2 separate regions of the Homo sapiens genome follow, and region 2 is linked to region 1. The links are contacts of gene promoters, found by promoter capture Hi-C in blood cells and fetal thymus (Javierre and others, 2016). All regions are on one chromosome and are shown on one strand. Each heading gives the region's core, a stretch centred on a gene start or on the middle of the fragment in contact. The rest is flanking DNA. Distances are from core to core; before and after follow the strand shown.

Region 1 (7,095 bases), core at 2,834-5,333:
GCAATTTCCTTACATAGGTAAGTTCAAAAATACTTATATTCAATTGAGATTTTTTTTTCTTTTGAACAGGCTGTCACCTAGGCTGGAGTGCAGTGGCGCCATCTCAGCTCACTGCAACCTCTGCCTCCCAGGTTCAAGAGATTCTGGTGCCTCAGCCACCAAAGTAGCTGGCGTACACTACTACACCCGGCTAATATTTGCATTTTTAGTACAGACTGAGTTTCACCATGTTTTCTAGGCTGGTCTCACATTCCTGGACTCCAGCTATCTGCCCACCGCGGCCTCCCAGAGTGCTGGGATTACAGGTGTGAGCTACCGCGCCAGGCCTAAGATCGACTTTCTTTTTATTTTTTTTTTTGAGATGGAGTCTTGCTCTGTGGCCCAGGCTGGAGTGCAGTGGCACGATCTCGGCTCACTGCAACCTTTGCCTCCTGGGTTCAAGCGATTCTCCTGCCTCAGCCTCCCGAGTAGCTGGGACTACAGTCGTGCGCCACCACACTCAGCTAATTTTTTTTTTTTTTTTTTTTTTTTGGTAGAGATGGGGTTTCACCATGTTGGCCAGACTGGTGAACCGCCACCGCGCCCGGCCAAGATTGACTTTCAATTTACAACAGCTTTTAACTAACTTCTAGCTATTTGACTTGGGAAGTCAAGAAGCAAATAATTTCTAAACATCCATTCAGATGCTCAAGGATGCCCCTGGAAAGTACAGTGATAGTACGTTATCAATTTCCCCTGAAATTACAACTTTTTTTTTTTTTTTTTTGAGACGGAGTCTCACTCTGTCACTGAGGCTAGAGTGCAGTGGCGTGATCTCGGCTCACTGCAACCTCCGCCTCCCGGGTTCAAGCGATTCTCCTGCCTCAGCCTCCCGACTAGTGGGATTTCAGGCGTCCACCACCACACTCGGCCCACAACTTCAAATTTTTAAAAATGCATTATATAGCAGGAAATGTAAACTAATGCATCTATCCTCTTTAAGAAATTAATCTGGGCCAGGCGCGGTGGCTCACACCTGTAATCCCAGCACTTTTGGGAGGCCAAGGCAGGCGGATCACTTGAGGTCAGGAGTTTGAGACCAGACTGGCCAACATGGTAAAACCACCCCACCCCCACCCCACCCCCAACTCCGCCTCTATTAAAAATACAAAAATTAGCTGGGCGTGGTGGTGGGCACCTGTAATCCCAGCTACCTCAGAAGGCTGAGGCAGGAGAATCGCTTGAATCCGGGATGCAAAGTTGCAGTGAGCCAAGATTGCACCACCACACTCCAGCCTCGGCAACAGAGCGAGACACCGTCTCAAAAAAAAAAAAAGAAAAAGAAAAAGAAGAAAATTAATCTGGCCAGGCGTGGTAGCTCATGCCTGTAATCCCAGCATTTTGGGAGGCTGCAGTGGGCAGATCACTTGAGGTCAGGAGTTCGAGACCAGCCTGGCCAACATGGCGAAACCCCATCTCTACTAAAAATACAAAAATTAGCCAGGCGTGGTGGCAGGCACCTGTAATCCCGGCTATTCTGGAGGCTGAGGCAGGAGAATCGCTTGAACCTGGGAGGCGGAGGTTGCAGTGAGCCAAGATGGCGACATTACACTCCAGCCGGGCAACAAGAACAAAACACTGTCTCACACACACACACACAAAGAAAAGAAATCAATCTGAAGTCTTCCTCTGTTCAGGACTTCTAACTCAGAGACAAATTTTCAGACAGGCAGAGGCAAATTTCTCTAAATTTTAGGTTTCTAGGATTGATGATTAAGTTGAATGTAATGTTTAAGCTGTAGAAAGTATGCCTCTTTCCAAAAGCCTGTAGCTGGCCACAGATTAGTTCTGGGTGAAGCTTACTAATCATTAATGGATTTATGAAATTCAAACTACTTCAGAGTAAGCCTCCTGACAAGTAGGGAAAAAAATCCAGTTTTCTCATTCAGTTCTTTCCACCAAGCTAAAATGAGGATTCAATCTCAAATTGATGTTCCAAACTATCAGATAGTTTTAAATGATTCTAGAAGTTGAAGTGGAAAAATATAAATACAACAGCTGATAGTAATTCAAGACTGGCTTATGTCAAACAATTGCATTTCTAACCTGAGTTAATTCAATAACGTGAAATTTGAAATAAGATTTTTTTATCTTAAGTTTAAAATCATAAGGTTCTATAATATTGGATGTCAGTTGGTTGCAGTTCTCACCTATTTGAAAAAAAAATTGAAACTACTTGTCGCTAAACCATGGTAACTCAAAAACATTAAAGGCAAATATCTACTAAGGCACTATATTTCATTTCATAATTTATTTCTCCATCCCCCAAAAAAGGCATCACCTAGTTATTTATAGGACACTATCACTATTGCAACATAACAGAAAAATCTTAACATCATTGATAACTGTAGCATTTTAGTGTGTAAAATCTATATTAGATTTTAGGTGTCAAATCTATACTAGATTCTAATAGTGCACTCTACATTCAACCTCTGATTTAAAGAGTTTCATTTTAACCCAGCATTGTTTAAATTAATTTTAGGATGTGTTATGTCAGTCAAGATATACTTGCTTCTACTGAGAGACTTCTATTAAATATGCATTCAAGTATATATTTTACAAGGCATGACCTTGCGAGCCCTAAAGAGTGAGACTAAACTGCAGCTACAAATAAATGGTGCAGGAAATCAAAGCAAACTATATTCAGAGTCTAAATCCAAAATATGCATTCTGGTTCTTAAATTCCAGGTTTGGAAAGAAATGCCAACAGTAATAAATAAATAAACTGCTTTGAAAGCATCTCAAATTCCTCAAAAGTGCTTAAACAAAAGACTCAGCTTTGAGTACAACCTTAAGCTATCTCAAAACAAATAAACACACTTGATAAGGCTTAGAATGAAATTACCTCAGTCACTCACTGGAATGCAACAATGCATTCGCAAAGTTATTCTGAAGTAAGCTACTCCAACTAAACCACACTGAAAAGGAGAGAACGTGGATAAACTAAACATGTTTTGTGAAATACCTGTTTTGTATTGGCCTGAGTTTTTTAAAAGTTACATCTCATTCATTATCAGTATTTAATCTGCAAGAATATCATCAAAGGATGTCAATATGGACAAGCAGAGACAAGAAACATCAGACTTTCAGGGAGCCTATCTTCACAACCCTGAGTTATTAACTGAAGTTCTCAAAGTTAGATGAGTTAAGATACAGACAACGTGCTTTGCACAAATGCTTTGCTTATAGTAACCACTCAATAGTCATTAACAAGAATTTATTAACTATCCACCAAAACACAGTTTCAAACCCTACCGACAACTAACCACAAATTGCACCACTTTTCGGGCCGACTTCTACGGACGGTGCACAGAAGCAATAAATACACTTTTAAAACTCCCCAACTTGAAGACCAAAAAGATACAATAACTTAAACTGCTTTCAAAAACTACTGGAGTGTCATGCCTACAAATTCAGAACCTGGCTTAAAAGCTAGTTAACTGACTAGAATTCTTGGTAGACCCAAAGCCAACTAAATCAGGAACACTTAAAGGTCAAAGGCGTCCAAGCCGGGAGCGATGTGCTCCACTGTTACATGATCCCCGCCTCCTACAGGAACAGGGGACTGAACCAAAGGCAGTTGCGGCCGAAGTGCAGGCGACACACAGGGTTACACATCACCTTCGGAGATTTCCTCCAGGAATCAAGACGCTTCCCCCTTGGGTCCAGCGACTCACAGGTGACCCCGGATCTCAAGAGTTCTCGTCTCCCCCACCCCCCACTTAACCCCGCGAGCGCCGCCCTCGGCCCCCAGACCTCCCCCTGCACCCCCGGCTTCCGCGCACAGGACCGGCGGGGCCGCCGCTCCAGCCTCCACCCCAGGCCCGGGGCCTGGGGAAATGCGGCCCCGCGGCCCGCGCCCCCAGCCCGGCCCCCGCGCGCGCGGCCGGGACAGGATACTGAACACCGTCCGCTCCCAGGGCTCCAGCATGTAGAGCGCCGTGACCAGCAGGTACTGGTAGTAGAACCAGGACATCTGCTTCCAGGCCCGCGCCAGCGCCATCCCCGCCATGCGCCTCCCGCGATGCAGCTCACACGTCAGTCTGTCCGGCCGGCCGCCCGCTCACGTCCTAAAGCCCCCGGCCGCCAGGCCCGCCCGCCCGCCACCCAGCGCCCATTGGCCCGCCCGGCCCCGCCGTCACCCGCGGCACGCCCAGACCCGCGCGCGCCCCGGCCGCCGGCCCCCAGCCCCGCCCGACCCGCGCTCATTGGCCAGGCCGCTACCTCGCGTCGCGTCGTCCCCTCCCGTTTCCCCGCCCGGGCATCGCCCACGCTAGCCGGAGAACGGTCCCCGCGAGAGCGCCCAGCCGCGCCCCACCCCGCCCGGGCCGGCCGGTGGTGGGCGGGGCGTCAGTGCCGGCCGGGGTCCCGGGGCCCCCGCAGCCCAGCGGGCGCTCGGTCCGTCCAGACTGGCCCAGAGCGCTTGCGGAAGAAATATTTCTGGAACACTTGTTATGCCTCAGGCATCCTTCTGAGAAGGAGGATTGCCAGGGAGAACCGGAATGCCTTCGGTTCCTTACCTTGTGCAGCTGGCGGCCTAGCTGGGAGACAAGCATTAATCAAGTCGTGATCCGTGTAAGAGGAGATAAGGGGCTGAGAGAGGGTGAGGAGGCGAACGCCACCTAATAAGGAGGTCTGGAAAGGCGTCCTTGTAGAAGGGATGCACATTCGGCCTCCTTCCTCCCTTCCCCCACCCATGCACACACACACACACACACACACACACACACACACACACACACACACCCCTAGACGGACATAACCCATGCACTCCCTAACCCAGAGACCACTTACCAAAAACATCTATCTGCCCACCTCTTAGTGGCTGTAGGTAACCACCAAGTGGGTCAAGGCCAGAAGCGCGCTGATCTAGTGGGTTCTGCAGAAGACAGGCAGCTTGAGATTGGTGTGAGGGCTGGTGATACTTCCCTAGAGATGCACTCCTGGATGCCCAGATTTTCCCACTGCCAGATGGGCCAGCAACATTGCACTGGCCACAAGGAGCTCCATGCACTGGTGTAGCATGTGAACTGCCACAATTAAATGGCCTGCTGTTTAAATGTTAAAAGTCTTCCAGGTTAAACATACTACTGCTTAAACTTTAAAAGTTTCATGGTTAATAACTATTCATTAAAAGTACCAAGTGCCGGCCAAGCGCCGTAGCTCATGCCTGTAATCCAAGCACTTTGGGAGGCTGAGGCTGGCGGATCACTTGAGTCCAGAAGGTCGAGACCAGCCTGAGCAACATGGTGAAACCCCGTCTCTACCAAAAAAAATAAGTAAATACATAACAAAAAGTTAGCCAGGGGTGGTGGCGTGCACCTGTAGTCCCAGCTACTCAGGAGGTTGAGGCGGGAGGATTGCTCGAGCACGGGAGGTCGAGGTTGCAGTGAGCCAGGATGGTGCCACTGCACTCCATCTTAGGTGGCAGAGCAAAAGAAAGGAAAGAAAGGAGACAGAGAAAGAGAGGAGAAAACAGAAGAGAAGAGAAGAAAAGAAAGAAAACAGTAAGTAATATCAAGTGCCAGACATTGGGATAGCAAGCCAGATAGACTGAGACCTGCCTTCATAAAGTACCCAGTCTGCTGGGGAAGAGAGGCAAGTTAATGGATTACAGTGAGGTGTGGTAAATGATATTTTTGTGGATCGTATCCTTTAGGATACCAAGATAGCCCAGACAAAATCAGATTGGGCTTGTGAAAGTCTTCTGAGAAATGGTGCTTGAACTGAGTGTTGAAGGACAAGCAGAAATGGAAGAATGAATGAGCTTGGGGAAGAGAGGGTGAGACAGACATTCTAAGGATGAAGTTGTGATGTTTTTAGAAGACTGGAAGAACTTCCATGTGGCTGGAGCAAAAAGAATGTATATGCAGTAGCAAGAGATGGGCCTAGACAGCAAACAGGGACCATATTCTGAAGGACCTTGTTTGAGAAGCTAAGAAATTTTTAACTTGATGTCCAAAAGTTACTGGAGCCAACAACTTAAATAAGATTTTCTTTCAGGGCTGGGTGTGGTGGCTCACACCTATAATCCCAGCACTTTGGGAGTCCAAGGCGGGTGGATCACATGAGGTCAGGAGTTCCAGACCAGCCTGGCCAACATGGTGAAACCCCGTCTCTACTAAAAATATAAAAAATTAGCCGGGCGTGATGGTGGGTGCCTGTAATCCCAACTATTTGGGAGGCTGAGGCAGGAGAATCGCTTGAACCCGGGAGGCGGAGGTCGTAGTGAGCTGAGATCACACCATTGCACTCCAGCCTGGGCAACAAGAGCAAGACTCCGTTTAAAAAAAAAAAATGCTTTCGGAACAAGACTTGGGTGTGGGTAGTAGCCTGGAGGCTACCGAGGGAAAAAACAGGTTGGGAAGACATTACAAAGGTAGAACCCACAAATACTTGAAACCTCCTTACCCCTCAGAGATGCAGGTACACGTGCCCTCCTACTTTCAAACTTAACTGTTTTGGACTTCTTTCTGTCCCTGTTCCTGTTCAGGCACAGGCAAGCTCATTCCTTTTTCCTCGAGAACTCCAACTACCCTCAGCATCTGGTGATGCTACATAAAATTCATCCAAGATTGGAAGCATCACCCGTAGCCACCCTTCCTTTACTGGGTCCACTCCCTAGCACCATGTCTGCCAGGTGGTTGTCCTCACTGTTAGTAGCTCCCAATCCACTGCGTGTCTCTCGGAGACCAGCTCTACCACCTCATCTCACTAAAGTTGGTGACTGACTAGAAATGAGGAAAAGAGGCTGAGATCCTGGATGATGACAATACAAAGAAACCGAAGGAAGACGTTTGGCTGAAAAGATATTGATTTTGTTAGGATGAAGCTATGTCTGAGGTACCTGAGGGACACTTAAATGGAGGTGTCCAGGGGACAATTGAGCACATGGTTTGGAACTCAGAAGTGAAGCCTGAATGGAACTAGAGGCATATGAATTTTCAATATGTCCCTGGTCATTGAAGCCAGAAGAGCAGATGAGGTCACCCAAGGAAAGCACATAGAATGGGAAGAGCAGGGTACAGAATAAACCCAGAGATTCTGGCATTTGGC
Region 2 (7,095 bases), core at 3,399-5,898, about 23 Mb after region 1:
GAAGAGGTACTCTAATTGATGCAAGTGCATACCAAACTAAAGATGATATACATTGTGGGATGGTGGTAGTCTTGGGGATACTGTGAGTACTTCATTCAGCACTGAAGTCCTAAATCCTGTTCCTTGTTCATGGATACATAGTAGTCCCCCTCTATCCACGGTTTCACTTTCCATGGTTTCAGTCAATCACAATGTGAAAATATTAAATGCAAAATTCCAGAAATAAGCAGTTCATAAATTTTAGGATGCACACTGTTCTGAGTCACATGATGATATCTTACACCATCCCACTCTGTCCCACTCAGGATGTGAATCATCCCTTTGTCCAGCATATCCGTGCTGTTTGTGCTACATGTCTGTTAGTCACTCAGTAGCCAGCTAGGTTGTCAGATTGCAAAAAGAGTATATATAGCACACTATCCATGGTTTCAGGCATCCCCTGGGGACTTTGGAACACACCCCCTGCAGATAAGGGGGGGCTACTAATTGCATATGTGTGTATAGACTTTAAGGATTTCTGAAATTAGTTTTTCAAGTCCCTGTGGGAAAAAATAAACATCGTGATACATTGATGGATTGTTTTTAATCCTGAAAAAAAAGGCCTCTTCATCTAACAATAGGGGATATTCATTAAATGTTCATAAAAAATCTTTACAGACACCAGAAAACATTTGTATAATATTAAGGTTTTTAAAAGTACACAAATTACATGTGCAGAAAAAGCTGATCTCTCCTATATAAAAAGAAATGTACATCTATTTACATAATAAAAAGATTGGAAGTACATAAAAGTGTGTATTGTAATTATTTCTGAGGGTCATCTTGTGTAAAATACTTTTCTTTTTTACACTTTTCAGTGTTTCTCTGTATGAGCATGTAATACTTTTGTTAAAATACCAAGAGTTATATAAAAAAAAAATAATAAGATGAATTCCTTGATATGTAGGCAGCAGTTTCAAAAAATGTTTTAAGACTAAAGAATAGCCTAGAGGCAGTTAACCAATTGCAGTTACTTGAAGTGAATGAGGGGAGAGGCTAACTTGGGCTGGACCATAGAATTAACTCTTGAAATAGGCCATAAGCAGTAGTTCAGACAGCTGGTCAGGGAATGTCCCTCACCTTTACCACCTATCTCAATAGATCTAGGAAGTGGCTTTTTCTTTGCTTAACAATAGGTCCAGTGATAAGCAGAACTGCCCTCCTTCAAAGCTCCCTGAAGTGCAAAAAGACTAAGGAAGATCAAAGGAACCATTAGGCACTCCCTGAATTTCAAAGGTTTCTCCTATGGGAACTCTGAGAAGCAGCTGTGTGTTTGTACATTACATAGAAACTTCCATTACTGTGCATAAATATAACATGACAAATATCTTGGTCACTTTATCCTTTCCACTTCCTTACTATGGTTGCATTTTTGGGTTGACAGTTTTGTAAACACATTAAAATGAGGAACACATCAAAATATATTAGGAATGGAGATCTACATTCCTAATAGTAAGCACTATCCTATTCTTAGCATATCATGTTTGTCCTTTCTGAGCCTAGTTTTTAAAAGTCTTTGTTTCTATATTTTCTCACTCAGAGACAAAATAATGAAATAAACATTTTGTTTCACATAACTTGTGTTTTAATGCAATATTCAGGCATTACAAAATCATTTTCCTTTCCTGGACTGGCTTCACAGAATCAGTCCCCATAATGATGGAAAATGTCCCTTCACCAAAACATGTGATGCACGATGTAGTGAGCTAAAGCCAAAATAATTCAGTCAACCGTGTGTATGTAGACTGTTGTATTGTTATTGAACGCATTGCCTCAAAGTGTTCATTTTAATAATAAAAAATGCATCTGGGGCCGGGCGCGGTGGCTCATGCCTGTAATCCCAGCACTTTGGGAGGCCAAGGCAGGTGTATTGCTTGAGCTCAGGAGTTCGAGACCAGCCTGGCCAACATGGTGAAACTTCGTCTCTATCAAAAATGTAAAAAATTAGCCAGGTGTGGTGGCGCATGCCTGTGGTCCCAGCTACGGAGCAGGCTGAGGTGGGAGAATCACCTGAGCCTGGGAGGTGGAGGTTGCAGTGAGCTGAGATTGTGCCACTGCACTCCAGCCTGGGTGACAGAGCAAAACCCCTGTCTCAAATAATAATAATGATAATAATAATAATAAGAAGAAGAAGAAGAAGAAGAAGAAGAAGAAGAAGCATCTGTGATTATTTTAAGTAAAATAATCTTAAGACCCAAGTATATCATATATAAGATGAGAAGTTCTATATAAGTAAACTTAGTTAAAGGTATATACACCAAGAGTGAGATCTACATTCTGAAAAGGTATAGAACAAGATCAATCTTTCATTCTTGTATTCAAAATAATGTATTATGTATATACCAATAAAAAGAGGAATAAGACATAATTCCTACCCTTAAAAGACTTCTAGAAGAAGCAACAGAAAAACAACGATCACAGAAGTCTGCAGCACTCACAGAGTAGGTAGAAGCCAGTTTTGCGAGAGGTGGGGAGGTGTGTGTGGTGTGTGTGTGTGTGACAGAGAGAGAAAGAGAAGAGAGGGAAGGGGGGTGCATTATGAGGGGTGATGATTCCAGGGACCATCAGCACAGACACAGAGGCCAGAAATCATCTTGTACATTTTGGCAAGTGCAAGTTACTTGGTTCAAAGGTCATTCATTTATATACACAATAATTATTAATTGAATATTTTGGGTTGAAGCTGTGAATGGCAAGAAGTAACTGCTGCTTCAAGGTAAGATCACCAAAAGGGCTTTGTTTATGTAGTGAACATAAGTGGTTGCCTTAACAGCATCCACTCCACATTCTTCTTCCTAACACAAACCCAATTTTGTTTAGTATACATCCCTTTTCCACACACCCATACACCTCCAAGGAAGCTCACCTCACTCTTAATCTCCTTCCAGTGATTGACTCAGAAATAGCATGTGATATATTCTAACCAAGAACATAGCCAGAGAAGTTGGTTAGAGGTTTCTGGAAAAGTAAATCTGCGAGTTACTGAAAGCCTCTCCCTTCCTCTTACTGGGCATGAATAAAGAAGCACTTAGCCCCAAACACTTTTGGCAGCCATATTATAACAATGAAGGAAATCAGCATTAGGATGGAGCTGATTCTGTGAATGGAAGGAGAGAGACAGAAACTTGGGTTCACAATGATATCATGAAACAACTAATCCCGAACCTCGCTCTGCCTCTGACTGTCTCATTTCCTTATTTTTTTTTAAAGCCAGATTGAGCTTGTGGCCAAAGCACCCTAACCAAAGTTTAGATTTGATTATTAGGCTATGGGAGTCTCTGAAGAGATTTAAGCCAGGGAGTGACAAAATAGGTTTGTATTTTGTAAGGGTGGCAGTGGTAGAAATGTTGAGGATGGATGGGTGGGATGGGAGATCAGCTAACATTTACGGGGGCTTCCTATATTCTCTGTATTAAACACTTTACATATAATAATTCATTTTACCCTTCCAAAACCCTACAAGGCATGTAATATTATCCATATCCGATATGAGGAATCTGAAGCCCAGACACATTAAGTTGTCAACACCACACAGCCAGTAATTGGCAGAGCCAGGATCTGAACTCCAATTTTACTTAGATACTCCTTCATCCCCCAGCCACATACATCAGGAGAAGCTCACCTCATACTCAATCTCAGACAGGCCTGATTGACATAAGAGTAAATCCAGCCCCTTTCCAGTGTCTGGCTCAGGAATAGGCCAGTGATCCAATTCTGGTCTGGCTTCTGACCACCAATTCATAGGGTTATCATAAGAACTAAATGAGCTATTATTTATAACATGCTTAATACATGGGAAGACCACAATAAATGGTAGCTATTGTTATTATTAAAAGCTTCTATTATCAAGAACAACTGAGAAAGAATGTCCAAAGGAGGGCAAGAGAGAGTGGAGAAGCCAAGGGAAGAGTTTCTGGAAGGACACAGCAGGATGAAATGCCACGATGGAATAAAGTGATGTGAGAACTGGAAGAGTCTAGTTAGGACATAACAGGTGATTTTTTGCCAGAGTGTTGTTTGAAGAAGGGCTGAGATTGAAGCCAACCCACCAATGAAGAGTGAACCTGCACCTGAGTAGAGACAGTGGATACCTATTGCAGATTAGGAGTTTGTGGTGAAAAGGAGGCAGGAAAAGGATGGTAGTGGGAGAAATCTCTAAATGGGGCATGTTTATAAACTTTGAGGCAGTAGCTAGCAAAGGTAACATGGAAAATTCAGGAGAGAGAAACAATGATGGGACAGGTTCTAAAGGAGCCTGAAAGAGAAAGCATCAAGCCCACAGGTAGAGGGAGGTATTAGTCATGAAGAATTGATCCATCTTCCACCCTCTTAAGACTGGGAGGGAGGAGGTAAGGGTAAGTTCAGATACAGATGAACTTATAGGTATGGCAGTAGAAGGCACACCTATGAAATAGTTCACTTTTCTTAGTGAAATGGAGGCAGGGTTATCTGCTGAGAGTGTGAAGCAAGTAGTGGTTGAGGACAGTTGCTGTTGGATGAAGCTGGCCTTGGAGACAGGTTAAAACAATTCTAGACAGCTGAAGGCATAGCTAAATTAGAGACCAAAAATTTTTTGGCTCTAATATGTAGGAATATATGATTCTCTCCAACATGTCTCACCAGCCCAGGTGTATCTGTGAGAATCACCCTGACCATGTCTTCAGGCAGGTCATGAAGAGTTAGTGTGAGGTTGAAAATAATGGAAATGGGGACCATTTGACCACAACCCTCTCTGGTTCTTCATAGTCCTCTGAGGCCTCAGTTCTACAAACAAAATTGATGCCTACCTACAATTGGTACTGCCATCCACTACTGGCAAGGGGAAAGAAGTTTAAAGAACAGACTGTCATTCCCCAAATTCGAAGGGAAGAATCAAATTGTTAGTCTTTTACCTGGGCATCTCAGAGTGTTCTAAGATTACAGGTAATACAACAATATACTAATATTCATCCTTTGGTTAAGTTCTTCAGCTCTCAAATTTGATGTATGTTCTTTCTTTCATTCAAGATGAAACAAAGTTAAGGACATTCATTTTCAGGGCTTTATGTATAATAGATAGGATTAGTGGGATTAAGAACCACATGACATGTAAAATAAAACTACACAAATATTTAAATTATTTAGTATGTGTGCCTATGGCACATAACAATGTCATCCTGCTGTGTCAAGGGAACTTAAAGCATCTTTCCATTATTCATTCCCACAGTTACCTTTCAGGTAGGTACACAGCTAGGTTTTCTCTCTAAACCTAGCCAATAAGAGAAAAATGCCTCACTGTTAGAAAGAATTAAATAGAAATTTTTCTCCTTCCAAGCTGATTTCAATAAATTGCTTCAGGATGTTGTTTTAAAATTGCTATTGGTTATTTTAATTGATTTAATGAGAAGCTTTTTTTTCTTCTAAAAAATTAAGGCATGTTCTCTTCTTCCTCAAAAGAGAACAACAATAGTAAAAAAAAAAAAAAAAGAAAAAAAAAGAAAAGAAAAAATGGCTGTTGCTTCATAGGATATTACAAAACAATGAAAATATCAACTAACCACACAGAAGAGTATCACTGCTACACTCACCTTGCTCTGAGCCCATTCTTTCCTATGAAGTATTGCTCATGGAGGTAGTTGTTTTTTCAGAGTCTCATAATAGTAAATATGTCTAAAGCATTAGAGTGAACTAATCCTATTTCTATGCCTAAAATAGTGCTATCATCCTATCAAGTAAACATGAATCAAATAGAAAAGATTTCATAAGTTATAAAGGCAATTTTTTTTAGAGATGTCATCTGATTTAGAAGGCCAACATTGTAATTTTAATACTGGGATATAAAGAAAAATCACTGGGGCTGAGACATTAGAATTACCCCACTAGTTATTGAGGAGGTCAGAATTTACTTTGTCATTATAAGCATTCTAGGTTACTGAATGAGAGACTGGTGTACTTCAGTCAAAAAGCTTAACAATTTCCCTTTTATGTGTTTGATATGTGAATACAAAGTGACTAACATTTACTCCCTGGCCTCAAGAAGGTCCTTACAACTCTTGACTTTCTGAAAACCACTTTGAGACAACATCTGGTCAGCTCCTCAGTGTGACAGAGCTCAATGCCAAGTTGCAACACAGAAAGAACAGGAAGGCCTGCTGCCATTCATTCACTACAGTGAAGGTACATGCTTTTTAGGAAGGGCTTACATTTAAAAGTAAATTACTGAGAGGTATTTTTCTAAGTAAAATTCACCCTTAAACATCTCTTATGGAATTATCTGGTGCCTCTTGGGCCAGTTTTTCCACCATGATTTGAACAGATCATTGTTTCATTGGCTGACTACCCAGGTTACACTTAGAAACTTTGAAAAACATGTATCTTTAAACAATGTATGCACATTTGGAAACATGGTTTTGTTTTGTGCTTTTTAAAAGACAGAAAAGGGATCACGCTGTACTTATACATCTCATTTATATCCCCCACACATCAAGGTGTTTAGGAGGTTTTCAATGTATCTGTAGCAAGTTATACATTCTGAAAATGGCCACAGCAATATTTCTGGTCCCATATGCTCTTTGAGAACCTTGCCTCTCTCCACCAAGAGTAGAGTCTATTTCCCCTCCTGTCAAAACTGGATATAATTTTGTGTCTGCCTAGATACAATGCAGCAGAACTGACACTACATAACTTGTTTTTTGTTTCTTTTTGATGAGAGGGAGTCTCCCTGTGTTGCCCAGGCTGGAGTGCAGTGGCGCAATCTCGGCTTACTGCAACCTCCGCCTCCCGGGTTCAAGTGATTCTCCTCAGCCTCCTGAGTAGCTGGGACTACAGGCATGAGCTACCACGCCCGGCTAATTTTTGTATTTTTCGGCAGAGATGAGGTTTCACTGTGTTGGCCAGGCTGGTCTCGAACTCCTGGCCTCAAGAGATCCTCCCGCCTGGGCCTCCCAAAATGCCAGGATTACAGGCGTGAGGCACCGCACCTGGCTAGAGACTACATGACTTCTAAGGCTAGGTTATAATGGGTAATATGCTTCTGATTGACTTTCTCGCACGATACTTGCCGTGGAACCCAGCCAC

What was found. The method cuts DNA at HindIII sites, captures the fragments that hold promoters and counts their contacts. A CHiCAGO score of 5 or more calls a contact.
Region 2: a contact is called between a fragment that was not itself captured here and the fragment with the promoter of SPTSSA in region 1, in 1 of 17 cell types (activated CD4 T cells). The highest score is 6.1, in activated CD4 T cells.

The regions. Positions count from the first base shown.
Region 1 is chr14:34,458,157-34,465,251 of GRCh38, forward strand. It overlaps SPTSSA (serine palmitoyltransferase small subunit A), which reads right to left and starts at 4,084. Exons shown (of 2, transcript NM_138288.4): 1 at 3,940-4,084. The coding sequence starts at 4,051. RefSeq lists enhancers at 435-936, 3,297-3,406, 3,947-4,897 and silencers at 3,807-3,976, 4,097-4,606. The HindIII fragment of the contact is 5,560 bases long and covers 1,836-7,095 here.
Region 2 is chr14:57,382,154-57,389,248 of GRCh38, forward strand. No RefSeq gene overlaps it. Among named protein-coding and RNA genes, the nearest start is that of NAA30, 4.9 kb to the right of the region's middle. RefSeq lists an enhancer at 821-1,655. The HindIII fragment of the contact is 1,551 bases long and covers 3,874-5,424 here.